Regions from separate parts of the Homo sapiens genome. Here regions 2, 3 and 4 are each linked to region 1. Evidence: promoter capture Hi-C in 16 types of primary human blood cells and fetal thymus (Javierre and others, 2016). All regions are on one chromosome and are shown on one strand. The core of a region is centred on a gene start or on the middle of the fragment in contact, and the rest is flanking DNA. Distances in the headings are between cores, read along the strand shown. Region 1 holds the start of PIGK (phosphatidylinositol glycan anchor biosynthesis class K). Region 2 overlaps ZZZ3 (zinc finger ZZ-type containing 3). Region 3 overlaps AK5 (adenylate kinase 5). Region 4 overlaps AK5 (adenylate kinase 5).

The links. The method cuts DNA at HindIII sites, captures the fragments that hold promoters and counts their contacts. A CHiCAGO score of 5 or more calls a contact.
Region 2: a fragment that was not itself captured here is called in contact with the fragment with the promoter of PIGK in region 1 in 1 of 17 cell types (naive CD4 T cells); the score reaches 5.0 in naive CD4 T cells.
Region 3: a fragment that was not itself captured here is called in contact with the fragment with the promoter of PIGK in region 1 in 2 of 17 cell types (non-activated CD4 T cells and monocytes); the score reaches 6.5 in non-activated CD4 T cells.
Region 4: a contact is called between a fragment that was not itself captured here and the fragment with the promoter of PIGK in region 1, in 1 of 17 cell types (naive CD4 T cells). The highest score is 6.5, in naive CD4 T cells.

Annotation. Positions count from the first base shown.
Region 1 is chr1:77,217,966-77,221,240 of GRCh38, forward strand. It overlaps PIGK (phosphatidylinositol glycan anchor biosynthesis class K), which reads right to left and starts at 1,465. Exons shown (of 11, transcript NM_005482.3): 1 at 1,345-1,465. The coding sequence starts at 1,437. It overlaps LOC105378808 (a long non-coding RNA gene), which reads left to right and starts at 1,555. Exons shown (of 3, transcript XR_001738109.2): 1 at 1,555-1,688; 2 at 2,823-3,028. RefSeq lists an enhancer at 1,149-1,258. The HindIII fragment of the contact is 2,966 bases long and covers 1-2,393 here.
Region 2 is chr1:77,575,375-77,578,649 of GRCh38, forward strand. It overlaps ZZZ3 (zinc finger ZZ-type containing 3), which reads right to left. Exons shown (of 15, transcript NM_015534.6): 12 at 694-846. Among named protein-coding and RNA genes, the nearest start is that of ZZZ3, 110 kb to the right of the region's middle. The HindIII fragment of the contact is 612 bases long and covers 1,513-2,124 here.
Region 3 is chr1:77,505,564-77,508,838 of GRCh38, forward strand. All of the region lies in intron 10 of AK5 (adenylate kinase 5), which reads left to right. Among named protein-coding and RNA genes, the nearest start is that of ZZZ3, 180 kb to the right of the region's middle. The HindIII fragment of the contact is 4,094 bases long and covers 1-3,275 here.
Region 4 is chr1:77,488,402-77,491,676 of GRCh38, forward strand. All of the region lies in intron 10 of AK5 (adenylate kinase 5), which reads left to right. Among named protein-coding and RNA genes, the nearest start is that of ZZZ3, 190 kb to the right of the region's middle. The HindIII fragment of the contact is 1,945 bases long and covers 578-2,522 here.

The DNA of each region.
Region 1 (3,275 bases), core at 215-2,714:
CTTCTATTTACTCATATTTATGTTCTCTAAAAATTATGCTATATAAACATCAAATATATAAATTAACAGTAATTCATAAATATATATGAAGTTCATGCTCAATATCTTTTTTTAACTGATAGGGTGTGTATTCAAAAAGTTTGGAGTCCACTGGTCTAAGCTCAAGGTGCCCAGGTGGTGGGGAGAAGAGGTTCCAATATGGAACACTGGAAAAGTAGGCAAGCACCAGGTCATAACGTTTAGACTTTATTCTGTATGCAATTAATAAATATTTAAAAGATTTCATCAGAAGAATAACCTGATCAGGCTTACATTTCGTGTAGACGAATCTAGCACCAAACTCAGGGAGTATGGAGGCCTATGGAAAACAAGATAAAGTAATCGCAAGAGTCTAGACAAGAAGTGATCACAGCCTGAATTAAGTCAGTGGAACTGGAGAGGTGAGGGCAATTTTAAGAACTCAGATCACAAAATTTAGTGATAATTAGAATATGGGATAAAGAGATTAAGACTCTCAGGTTTCTAGCTTAGGAGCAGCACATCTGGTTGAGAAATGGAGGAGAAAAGGGGTGCTTAGTTTTTCAGTGTCTTTTTAAGAGGAGGTAGGATAAGCAGAAGATAAAACTTTGCACACGGATTTTCAAATGTCTCCTGACTATCCCGGATTCTTAGTCAGCTGGATATGCAGGCCTGAAAAAGATACCAGACATCTAGATTGTAGACCGGGACTGAGGAATCATCAGAGTATGGTGAATAGTAAAAGCATTATAGAGCACCAGAACATCCTGTGTCCACGTTTAAAAATGGGAAGCTGGAGGAGCCCAGGATAAAACTAAGCACCCCTTTTCTCTTCCATTTCTTAACCCAGACGTGTTGCCCCTAAGCCAGAAACTTGAGAGTTTTAATAAACACTTATATTTATCCCATGTTCTAATTATCACTAAATTCTATTATCTGGATTCTTAAAATTGCCCTCATCTCTCCAGTTCCGTCTGACTCCTATCAAAACAGAGGGCTGCAGTTGAGTAGTAGGAAAGCAGTTGCTGCACACTGACATTTCACGAGCCTCTTGCTCGTATTTCACCTAAGAACTGCACACATGTAGGAGCAAAGGATCAGGTCCTCCTCTGTCTCCGAGGGTTTGATTATTTCAATTCATCGTTTTAAAACGCTGAAACAGACCAACAGTGTCCTAACCCGTGCCCAGTGATACCCTCCTCAAACCCAGCCTGGGTCAGGGGCTGATTGACTCCAGGAGGCGTCCCTCAGCTACTGTGTATCGGACATCTGCTGGAGGGCTCACAGCCGGCCTCCCGGCTGTGGTCAAATGAGCCTGACTCCTACCTCGATATGACTAGCGGCCACGCTGCCGAAGGACAAGAGCAACACAGTTGCCAAGACAGTCGCAGCCCGGCTGAGGCTGTCGGTGACGGCCATGTTTACCGGCTTCAGACTTCCCGCACCTGAAGGGGCGGAGGCAGTGCCGTAAAGTAGCGCTGCGGGTTTTTGCGACACCATCCGCGCCTCTTCGAGGTGGCCCTCTGGTCCGGCTTTAGAACTCTGCGGTTTTGTGGAGCTCGAGAGTCCGGGACAAGGTAGACGCAGGATATTGACCTTTTTATTTTTAACTGCATTTTCAGTTTGGAGGTTGTAAAATAGGTATAACATTTAAGAAAAAAAATTGAAAGGTGAGTGGAGGGAAAACCCGTAACTCCTTAAACTTTAAAAACTTATTTCTCTGTTCCCTTATTTATTTTATTTATTTATTTATTTATTTATTTATTTATTTTGCCGAGTGCTGCCAATTCTTTGAAAATATGAAGCTGGATGTGGTGGGAAGAACAAGCGTTTTGGCACAAAAAGATGATTAATTGGATAAACTATAAATGGAAAATGTGGGTGGGCGCTGCAATTTAGAGGCTTGGGGTCTACTACCTGGTGAAAGGATTAACATGGGAAGCTAGTTACGTTTTTGTTTCTTGAGTATCTTCTGTAATTATGGAACTAAAGCCTATCTGGAAGAGACACAGCTGGTGTATATGTATGGTCCACCATTCTCTTTATTATGTGAGTTCAGTTTTAATTTATGCATTTCATCTAGTATGACATAAACGTTTCCACGCTGCTTCCTCACAATTTTAACATTTAATGGTGAGATAAAATTCCATCCATTATTGATGCCTCAGCCAAAGTAATTGTCCCTCTGCTGCACAATGCAAAGTTTTTAAGTTTTACTATGAAAATAATATTGTAAAGAGTATCTTTTGTGTGTTTGGCTTTTTAAATCTGTTGAATTATTTTGTTTGTATAATTTTCCTGAACTAGGAATTTGGGGTCAAAATATTCCAAAACATTTTAATAACTATAAATGATGTTGCTTTCCAAAATGAACAAGCTTACAGCACTATCAGAATACACAACACCAAACCATACCATTTTTTTTCCTTTAAATTCTTTGGTATGAAATGTTACCCCTAGGTAACTATACTTATAATTCTTTGGTTACTATCAAGATCTGATGTCTTTCTTGTGTTTCTAAACTATCTCTGTGTCCTCTGATGTAAATTCTTTGTTTATATATTTATGTTTTGCATATGAATTTGAATAATATATTTATAAATAAGTAACATTAGCCTTTGCCATATTTTATGCTATTGCTTTTCCCATTCTCTTGTCTCTCTTTTCCTTTTATTTGTTTCTTTTGCTATTGCACTTTGTGAGAGGTTTCATGCTATTTAGTCAAATTTAGGTTTTCCGTTACGTGAATCCTAGAAAGTAAATACACTGCCAGAATATCTTCCATGTATTCATTAATTCAACAGATATCTATTGGATGCTGATGATTATGAAACAAAGTAGCAAAGATAAGAAGCCATTTGCTCATTCTGCTCCTTTGCCAGCAATATTTCACAAAGCCCCTGACTCATTGACTGTGAGCAGCCTTGTGGAAGAATGCCTTGAAGACCATAAGCAGGATAGGGAATAGGTTTGCACATCTCTTGCCTGAATCACTGAATTTTTACAAAAGGTAAGTTTGGTGATCCTAGCCCTTGCCTCTTCCTGTACATAAGATAATGTCTGACAAGATTAATGATTATGCCTCAAATTCATGACCAGATGTAACTTCATACCCACACTTTGATGAGACTTTACTTGTATTAACCCATTTTCATACTGCTATGAAGAAATACCCAAGACTGCATAATTTCTAAAGAAAAAGGCTTAGTGGACTCACAGTTCCACATGGCTGGGGAAGCCTCACAATCATGGTAGAA
Region 2 (3,275 bases), core at 569-3,068, 360 kb after region 1:
GATCAGTGGCTGTTATGCCAAAAAAAGAGACAACCAGGCTGATGAAAGTAAACGTGAAGTAGTCCTGCCCACCCTAACAAACAAATACATCTGAATCTCATCAATGCTCTTGACCTACTATGAATTTACAGGAAGTTCAGAAAACAGAGGAACAGATTAAATGACAAGAAGATGTAATCAATAAAATCCATACTGCAAAATTCTATAAGACAAATGAACCAGTTCTTCAACAAAAACATTGGGAGAGGGAAAAAAGGAAAGTGAAAGAGGGAGAATGAACCTATTGTGATTTATGGGCTTTATTTGGATCCAAACCCAAATGAAGAAATTAGAAAAAAAATCATGAACAGTGACTATATATTTCACTGTATAACAAATTACCTTTTATAAACATGATAATTATATTGTGTAATATCTGGGACTTGCTCCAAAATAATCCAGAGCAGAGTTGAGGTGGGTAGGGAGTAGAGATTAAAATAAGGTAGCTTCATGTTGATAATTGTTAAGGTTCATTATACTATTCTATTTTTGTATATGTTTGAAATTTTCCTCACAAAAGTACATTACTTAAAAACTATACATTTGACTTGTTCATTAAAAGAAACCAACATTCTCTGAAGAGTGGAAATAATTAGAAAATCCTACTCTCTTCTATACCTTGATGTATATAACAACTTGATGTGTATAACTTACTGATGCATCTTCAACAGCAGTGTTCATGTGGCTATGAAAACAAGATCGGTCATCATCTTCATCCATATACACTGGCGGTTCATGTGAAGTCATGAAAGTGGAAGGCTTAAAGAGATGCTTATTAAGAGGGTGCTGTCGTCTGCTTGTTGAAGACTAAGTAAGAAAACAAATTTTTAATTGGTTCAGTGAAAAATCATTACAAGAATCAAAAATATAAAAATACAAATGTTACTTCCAACAAGTCTATCAGAAGAATTTCACTCTATCCTTTAGCATACTCTTATGTTGTTGCTTTTTCTGTTTTCTGCGTTTTTAAAGCATAACTAGCTTTAAAAAATTTTTTTTAAATGTAGGGGAAATACCCCAACAACGGTAAAATGGACCACATGTTTAATATCTAGCTTATATTTGTATCCCCAGCATTTATCATACTCTTGGCAGTCAAATGCTGGCTGCACTGAATTCTTATGATCATCTTATAGAAGATCAGACAGGATGAAGTGGCCTATGCCAGACATAAAACTATCCAGTAAAAAGTAAAAGGAAAATTTCTATAACATTATGAATATCTGAAAATACTTATCTAACATTGATTGACTGCTTATTCTATGCCAGGGTTGTCCAATCTTTGGCTTCCCCGGGCTACATTGGAAGAATTGTCTTGGGCCACACATAAAATACACTCACACTAAAAAAAAAAACAAAAAAACAACAAAAAAAAAATTTCTTGTAATGTTTTAAGAAAGTTTACCAATTTGTGTTGGGCCACATTCAAAGCTGTCGTGGGCCACATGTGGTACGTGGGTCATGGGTTGGACAAGCTTGCTCTATGCCAATGTCATTTAATCCTTACAACATTCCTATAACGTAGTTATCATCACCTCTAATTTAAAAATGAGAAAACTGAGGACAGGGAGGTTAAGTTTCTTGTTCAGTGTGTTGCAGCTAGATAGTGGTAGAACCAGGATTATAAACTAGGCCTATGTGGTGCCCAAATTCTCACTTTCCACCACTATGCAGCCTGCCTGTCTTGATCAATAGCACAGTCACAAAGAACACCCTCAGCTACATGAAGAACCATCATTTCACCTGTTTCCAAATTTAAACTCTAACAATGGCAAGCAATCATTGTAAATATAGCTGTACTAGATCTTCACAGCCAAAATACAGTACACCTAAGGGAAAAAAACACATGTACGTTCTCCAGTATTCCTTTTGTTATCATTATCCAGTGTTAATGATGAAAACATGGTTACATCTATAAAATTAGCTTAGAAATTAACCATGAAAATAAGAGCTCTTACATTAAACACAGGTTAATGTAAGGTTCCAATATTCCACAGTTATAGGATGAACTCTACAAATCTACACAGGTTGTGCTATATTTGGTGGGAAACCCAAAATATTTAAAACAATTGGCAAATTAAAACAAGCTTCCAAAGCTCGGTTAAAAAAAATTTTTTTTTAATGTGTAAAACATGAAACTGTATAGACAATATTCTTAATGTAAAATTACATGAAATAGCTTCAGTATGGAAGGATAACAGCACTAGATATACTCTTAGCTTCTCTTTATGAGAAAGATGTCAGTGGTGGGGAGGGAAAAGTAACAGGATAACTTATTAAGAAAATTTAAAACAGCCAATTAGGTGTCTTTATTTTTTGCGATTACAAGAACGAACAGCTGGGACTGCAGGTGCGTGCCACCACACCCGGCTAATTTTTGTATTCTTAGTAGAGACGGGGTTTCACCATATTGGCCAGGCTGGTCTTGAACTCCTGACCTCGTGATCCACCCGCCTCGGCCTCCCAAAGTGCTGGGATTACAGGCGTGAGCCACCGTGCCCGGCCGAAACTGGCTACATTTTAATGTAGTGTCCTGTTTGGGAAAGAAACAGTAGCTTCTCCACTGTAGAAAGCAACAGAGAAAAGTGGAAAAAGTGTGGCATCAGAATGGGAGAGAATCAGTGGTTCCCAGACTTAGCAGCTAAGCAACTAGATAATTCACTCAACATACCTGAGGGCCCAGTTTCCTTACCAAATAAAAGGTTATAGAACAGTAGAGTCTGGCTCAGAGCCCTCAATATAACAGCTAGCTATTAATATTATGTCAGTAAAGTGAAGATGATAAGACTACTTATATTTCAAGAATTGTAGAAAGGATTAAATACAATATTTTATTTTTTTAAAGATACGGGACCTCACTATGTTGCCTAAGTTGGACTCAAACTCCTGGCCTCAAGTGTTCCTCGTGCCTCAGCCTCCCAAGTAGCTGGGACAACAGGTGCACACCACTGTGCCTGGCTTTAGAATATCATAATAAACCTTTCTATTCTTGGATTTATGTAGCATTATCTACAAAACAGAAATTGATCTATTAAATTTATTAAATGATTGATTTATTAAATAATCAAATATCCTAAAAACTTTACCCTCACAAAGGCCTTTCTAACATATTTTGAATCTAAAATCTTTCAAGTAGCACTCATTCACATTACTCCAAAGAAAATAATGAAGAATCATGAATTTCACTGAGCAGCAATAATGGAGTCCTTACCCTCCACTTTTGCACAATATAAGGA
Region 3 (3,275 bases), core at 559-3,058, 290 kb after region 1:
AAGTATTTCTTTAAAACAAGAGGGCCGACATGGTGGTGCACACCTGTAATCCCGGCACTTTGAGAGACCGAGGCAAGTGGATAACTTGAGGCCAGGAGTTCAAGACTAGCCTGGCCAACATGGTGAAACCCTGTCTCTACTAAAAATAAAATAAAGTAAAAAAAAAAAAACAAAAATTAGCTGAGCATGGTCTTGCATGCTGCATACCTGTAATCTCAGCTACTCAGGAGGCTGAGGCACAAGAATCACTTGAACCTGGGAGGTGGAGGTGGAGATGGCAGTGAGCCAAGATCGGCAGCCTGGGCAACAGAGCAAGACTCCATCTCAAAAAATAAAATAAATAAATAGAAGGAAAAATAGAAAGGAGGAGGTAAATTTGTAATTTCCTATTCTATACACTTAATATATGCCTAAGACCTAGTACAAAGTAGGCTACAAAGTAGGAAAAATGGTGTGTTTAAAAATCTGGAAGAGGCAGGGCACTCTAGAACAATGAATTCCAAGAATTCAGAAACCCAGGCAAGCAGAACCTGAGTGAAGTGACTTTTGAAAAGCAGCTCTGGTCTGTCAATTTGGAAAAATAAATGTGCTTGATGAGCTGGGTCTGGAACAGGCGCTGGAGACCTCTGGGTGAAGAAACAAAGGATCGGTGTTTGGTTGGTTGGTTGGTTGGTTGGTTGGTTGGTTGGTTGTTTTTTTTCATTTTTTGGGGTTTTTTTAATTTTTTAATTTTTCTGTAGATTCATATTCAGCTGAAAGGACAAGTGATTTAATGGTGTTTTCTTATGAGCAGTTTGGAAATCTTGTCTGTGTCTCTGTTCAGAGATGGGGGTAGGGTGAAGATGGGGTTAGGGTGCTGTGAGCTGTAGGAGGTCACCAGCTTCATGGGGTAAAAACATTTCAGAACCACCACCAACAGGCACCAGGAAAGGTATCTGCCCTTTCCTGTCACCTGAGACCTGAACCTTCCTCATTTTCTGTCCATGTAAGAGCTGGAGTCATGGCATTTGGTTTCAGAGTCTTGATTAATGAGGGATTTCACATCTCGCTGTGGCTATGGTGGGTGTTGGCTGAATGAATTGTAAAATCATAGAGTGTTAGTTAGAACATAGATGAAATCACATCCCTAAAGTCTACTATTCATTGTTAATGGGGCCGGGCACGGTGGCTCACACCTGTAATCCTAGCATTCTGGGAGGCTGAAGCGGGCAGATCACTTGAGGCCAGGAGTTCGAAACCAGCCTGGCCAAGATGGCGAAACCCCATCCCTACTAAAAATACAAAAATTAGTTGGGCGTGGTGGCACAAGCCTGTAATCCCAGCTATTCTGGATGCTGAGTCAGGAGAATCGCTTGAAGCCAGAAGGCAGAGGCTGCAGTGAGCCAAGATCACACCACTGCACTCCAGCCTGGGTAAGAGGTTGAGACTCAGTCTCAAAAAAAAAAACCACATAGTTAATAAATAATGGGGCCTGATAAGGTTGCCAGATTTAACAAATGAAAATACAAGAGCCATAGTTAGATTTGAATTTTAGATAAACAGTGACATGGCCTTTAGTCTAAGTCTCATGCAGGATTTGACTGGGTGTCCTGTATTTTATCTGGCCACCTGACGGGGCCATGATGAAAGCCCAGCTCCCAGTGACCATTCCAGTCAACTGCAGGCTGTGCAGTGCATTTCCCAAAGGAGGTCTGTCTGATTTCCAGAAAGACAGGCCAGAAGTGCCCCACATATGAGAGGCTGTAGAGTTTAATGGTACCAGGACACAGTTGGCCCTTGGCATGGTTTCTTCATCTTGTTATAGGATTACAAACAGCACCTGTTTCAAATAGCTGTTGTAAGAATTAAATAATTACAAGTAGAACACATAAAACAGATATTTATTAGATAAAATATCAAGCCAAAAGTATTGTGACTTTTATCTGAGTAGTCTGCAATGACTTCTCAAACATATTTGGTCTCTCAACTATACCACTGGTGTGAAATAGGCCACAGTTCCCCTACTATTCTCTCCAGCTTTATGCTGAGAAAACCAAAAATTCCTCTCATCTGCAAGAGAGAGGTATGGCCCTGATTTTGATAAGGCAATAAGGATTTTTATTAACCATCATAATAATTATTCATTCATGATAGAACCATTATCTTAGCATTATTACGTTGTAAATATAAAAAGAAAAATCAACAAAGACTTCCTGCAGTGACATTGGAGAGTTCACAGCAAATTGCCTTCCTTAGATTATCTAATCTAGAAGTTCCAAATCAGGCTAACCATCAGAATCACCTGGGGAATTATCCTTTTTTATTATGAAAATATTTCAAACATACAGCAAGCTGAAAGAATATTACAGTGAACACTTGTATACCCACCACCTAGTCTTCAATCAACATCTTACTACAAGCTGAGTATCCCTACTCCAAAAATCCAAAATCCAAAATGTTCCAAAGTCCTAATCTTTTTGCATGCCAACGTAACGCTCAAAGGAACTGCTCATTGGAGCATTTGGGATTTTGAATTTTAGGATTTGGGATGCTCAACTAGTAAGTATAATGCAAGTATCCCAAAATAAAAAAAAATTAAAATATAAAACACTTCTGATCCCAAGCATTTCAGATAAGGAGTGCTCCAACCTGTATATCTTGTCTTGTTATTTATCTGTCCCTCTATTCATCCATCAGTACATCTCTTTTTCCTGTCCACTTCCAAGTAAATTGCAGATGTCTGTACACTTTCCCTGGGGAATTTTCTAAAACTATAAGTTCCCAAGCCTCAGCCCAGAGATGTACAGATCTGCTAATTCAGGAATTTTTCCAAACAACTCCCCAGCTTCACTCTGGTAACCATGCTGATGGAGCCCTTATTAGCCGAAACATTACCAGTCTCATGGCAAAGGGAAAAGACCTGGCATACCATGTGCTGGGCGTAAAAACCTCTGCTCCAAACCAGTACACATCCACCTCTGCCCACATTTCATTGACCAAAACAAGTCCCTTGGAACTCTTAACTTCAAGAAGTTTGGGGCAGGCTGGGCACGGTGGCTCTCACCTGTAATACCAGCACTTTGGGAGGCTGAGGTGGGTGGATCACCTGAGGTCAGGAGTTCGAGACCAGCCTGGCCAACGTGGCAAAACCCCGTCTCTACTAAAAATACGAAAAACAGCCAGGTGTGGTGGTGGGTGCCTGTAATCCCAGCTACTCGAGAGGCTGAGGCAGGAGAATCACTTGAACCCTGGTGGCGGAGGTTGCAGTGAACCAAGATCATGCCATTGCACTCCAG
Region 4 (3,275 bases), core at 300-2,799, 270 kb after region 1:
GAGTCTTATATTTTCTATTCAATCTTTATATTAGGAGCCAAGTTAGGAAAAGGGGAGACCCTTTAAACTTGACAGCTAGGAATTCACAGTAGGAGCCTGTATTAGTCAGCGTTCTCTAGAGGGACAGAACTAATAGAATACATATATACATATAGGAATTTATTAAGTATTAACTTACGTGATCACAAGGTCCCACAACAGGCTGTCTGCAAGCTCAGGAGCAAGGAGAGCCAGTCCGAGTCGCAAAACTGAAGAACTTGGAGTTTGAGGGTAGGAAGCATCCAGCATGGGGGAAACATGCAGGCTGAGAGGGTAGGCCAGTCTCTCCTTTTCACATGTTTCTGCCTGCTTTATATTTGCTGGCAGCTGATTAGATTGTGCCCACCAGATTAAGAGTGGATCTGCCTTCCTCAGACCACTGACTCAAATGTTAATCCCTTTTGGCAACAGCCTCACAGACACACCCAGGATCAATACTTTGTATCCTTCAATCCAATCAAGTCCACTCAGTATTAACCATCACAGAGCCCTTTATTATCACATAGAAATCTGTGTTTTTAATAATGTGGTCCAAAGAAGCTTCCAAAAATAATACAGTATGTTTTGTGGTGGTTGTTACTGTCTTGGCAGTAATATTACTTCAGATTTATCCATTGTTTAACACTCACAGTTGAACTGTGAAATGCGTTGTCAAATGCCACTTCCTTCTCTCTAGGCATAACTAAAGACCTCACCTGTTACTAAGTCCTGTGCCCTTCAAAAGGTCAAACAGCACAGTAGAAGATCTTTGGAATTAGACAAAGCTCGAAACCTCCAAGGGTCCACAGACCACCCTCTAAGAATTGCTGCACTGAGCAAAAGATTTTTCTTCTATCTAACAAAACTCTCCTGTATTTCAATTTACTGATCAGTCACTCTTCTAGTAAAAGAGATTTCAGCTTGCTGTTTGGGCCATAGAAGGTACAAAGCCACTGTGATACAAGGGAAAACGACTGCTCTTCTTCTACTGTACATACTGAACTCTGAGAATTAAGGCCTTAGTTCTAAATATGTCCTTGACAGGTGGCAGAATGGTATTTTGGGACTGCTTTATTGTAAGTCAATTTAACCTTATGAAAATATTCCAGATGTCATAGACACACCCATAGCTGTTTTGATGAGTTCACTTTCAGTGAAACAGAGTGGTTTTGTCTATTTGAGAAGATGACTGGATTGTCACTTTTCAAATTATTGTCTTGGCATATACCCGAAAAACATTGGGGCTGCAGTATTAGCCAGAGTCTAGGTTGACATCCTCACTATTCGCCTTAAGACAAAATTAATATGCCTAAAGCATTCTTCCCCTGTTTTAACATATCCATTAGATCCTTTTTGTCCACAGAAAGGTCCAGACTTCTTAGACTGGCCTTCTGGTCTTTCCCATTTCCCGCCACACTCCCATGTCAATCTTTGGCTCCAGCCACACCTGCATCCTTATTATCGCTTGAGCTTGTCGCACTTTGCCAGCCCTTTCACTTGAAATGTCTTCTCCCCTATTAATCATGCCCCAAGGTCAGGGTTAAGTTCTAGCTCCCTGAGAACTCCGCTGTAATCACCATCCTTCCTCCTCTGCGCTCCTCCTCCCTTGTGTCTACATCATTCATTTGGGTACTACTTAATGACTAGAACAACAAATATTTGTTGGAATAATGAATTCTTTAAGAAGCAGTGTGGTCTGTTTCCATAACAACCAAAATTGCAATTGGAATTCCTGGCCTAGAACTGACAAGCAGCTTGTTGCTGCTGTGGCTGTTTCTTGCAGGATGGTTTTCATGTTAATTAGGAGCCTAATCAGATGCTCCTTTCTCCATGAAGCTGCTACCCTCTCACTGAGAGCAAGCAAAAGCAACTTTTCCCCTGAGCTGGTGCTGTTTCTTGCTCATTTGCAGGGCAGTAGTCACAGGTGGGAGCAGGTGATAGCCCTGATGGTCATCTGAGTGGAAAAAATGTTCAGGGCAAGTGTACCATCTGCACCAAAGGGGAAGGTGGCAAGGACGGACCCAGTCCACCCTTTGAATAATGTGTGACTATATATTCTTGTTCCCGAAGAAAGCAGCTCAGTAGCTGTTTATAAAGAAATACTTTTCAAAAAACAAAGAAGGGATTCCCACAGGGTAGGACCAGATGATCCAAAGGATTGAAAAAGATTCTATGGACTTCAGTTGTTCACATACAAGATATAAGAACCTGCACTGATATACAAGACAGGAGCTCAATCACTTCTGAAAACTGAAAATTATTTGGAAAATGTAAAAATAGCCTTTAAAGGGCCTCATTATGTCCCACTAACAGGTTCCTACAGTTTTTCACAACCTTTTCTGGTACATTTCTTTCCTTTTTTCTTTTTTTTTTTTTTTAAATCTCTTGATCATTATTTTGCTATGAGCCCATTTATTCTGGCGTCTTTTTCCCTTCTCCATTTTTCATTGCCTGCCTATGCCCAAAATGTGACATAATCTAAATTCCTACTAATTTATATCCAAAGCTTGGGTAGAAGTGCTCCAATTTGGGAAACACATCTGACTTTTCAGGTGAGGTATGGTATTAACAACATAATGATCAAGACATCATTCAAAGGCCATAGCTTTCAATGTGTCTGGGACACACGTGGCCTGGTGTACATTGGCATTGATGCTGTGATAAACTGTTTTTAAGTAGTGAACTTTGGGAGGTATTTTGGCAATATTTTATGTTAATTTGTGCATTTTTAACCACTACAAAAATAGTCCTATCTATTTTCCTAAGGAAAACTGGAGTAATAAGAATTTTTGCTTAAAACTCAATATTGCAATGCCTGGCACTATTTCATTATAGCCATGTTGCCATTTCATTATTGCCTTATTATTAAAAAAACATGAATTGAATTTTTTTTTTTTTTTTTTTTGAGATGGAGTTTTGCTCTTTCTCCCAGGCTGGAGTGCAGTGGTGCTATCTCGGCTCACTGCAACCTCCGCCTTCTGTTTTCAAGTGATTCTCCTGCCTCAGCCTCCCGAGTAGCTGGGATTACAGGCGCCTGCCATGGCGCCCGGCTAATTTTTGTGTTTTTCGTAGAGACGGGGTTTCACCATGTTGGCCAGGCTGGTCTCGAACTCCTGACCTCGTGATCCACCGGCCTTGGCCTCCCAAAGTGCTGGGATTACAGGCATGAGTCACCGTGCTCAGCCATGAATTGATTATTTAAAGTATCTACCTGCTGCTTAACATGAGCACTTTTGATGGAATTGACCCACGTATTT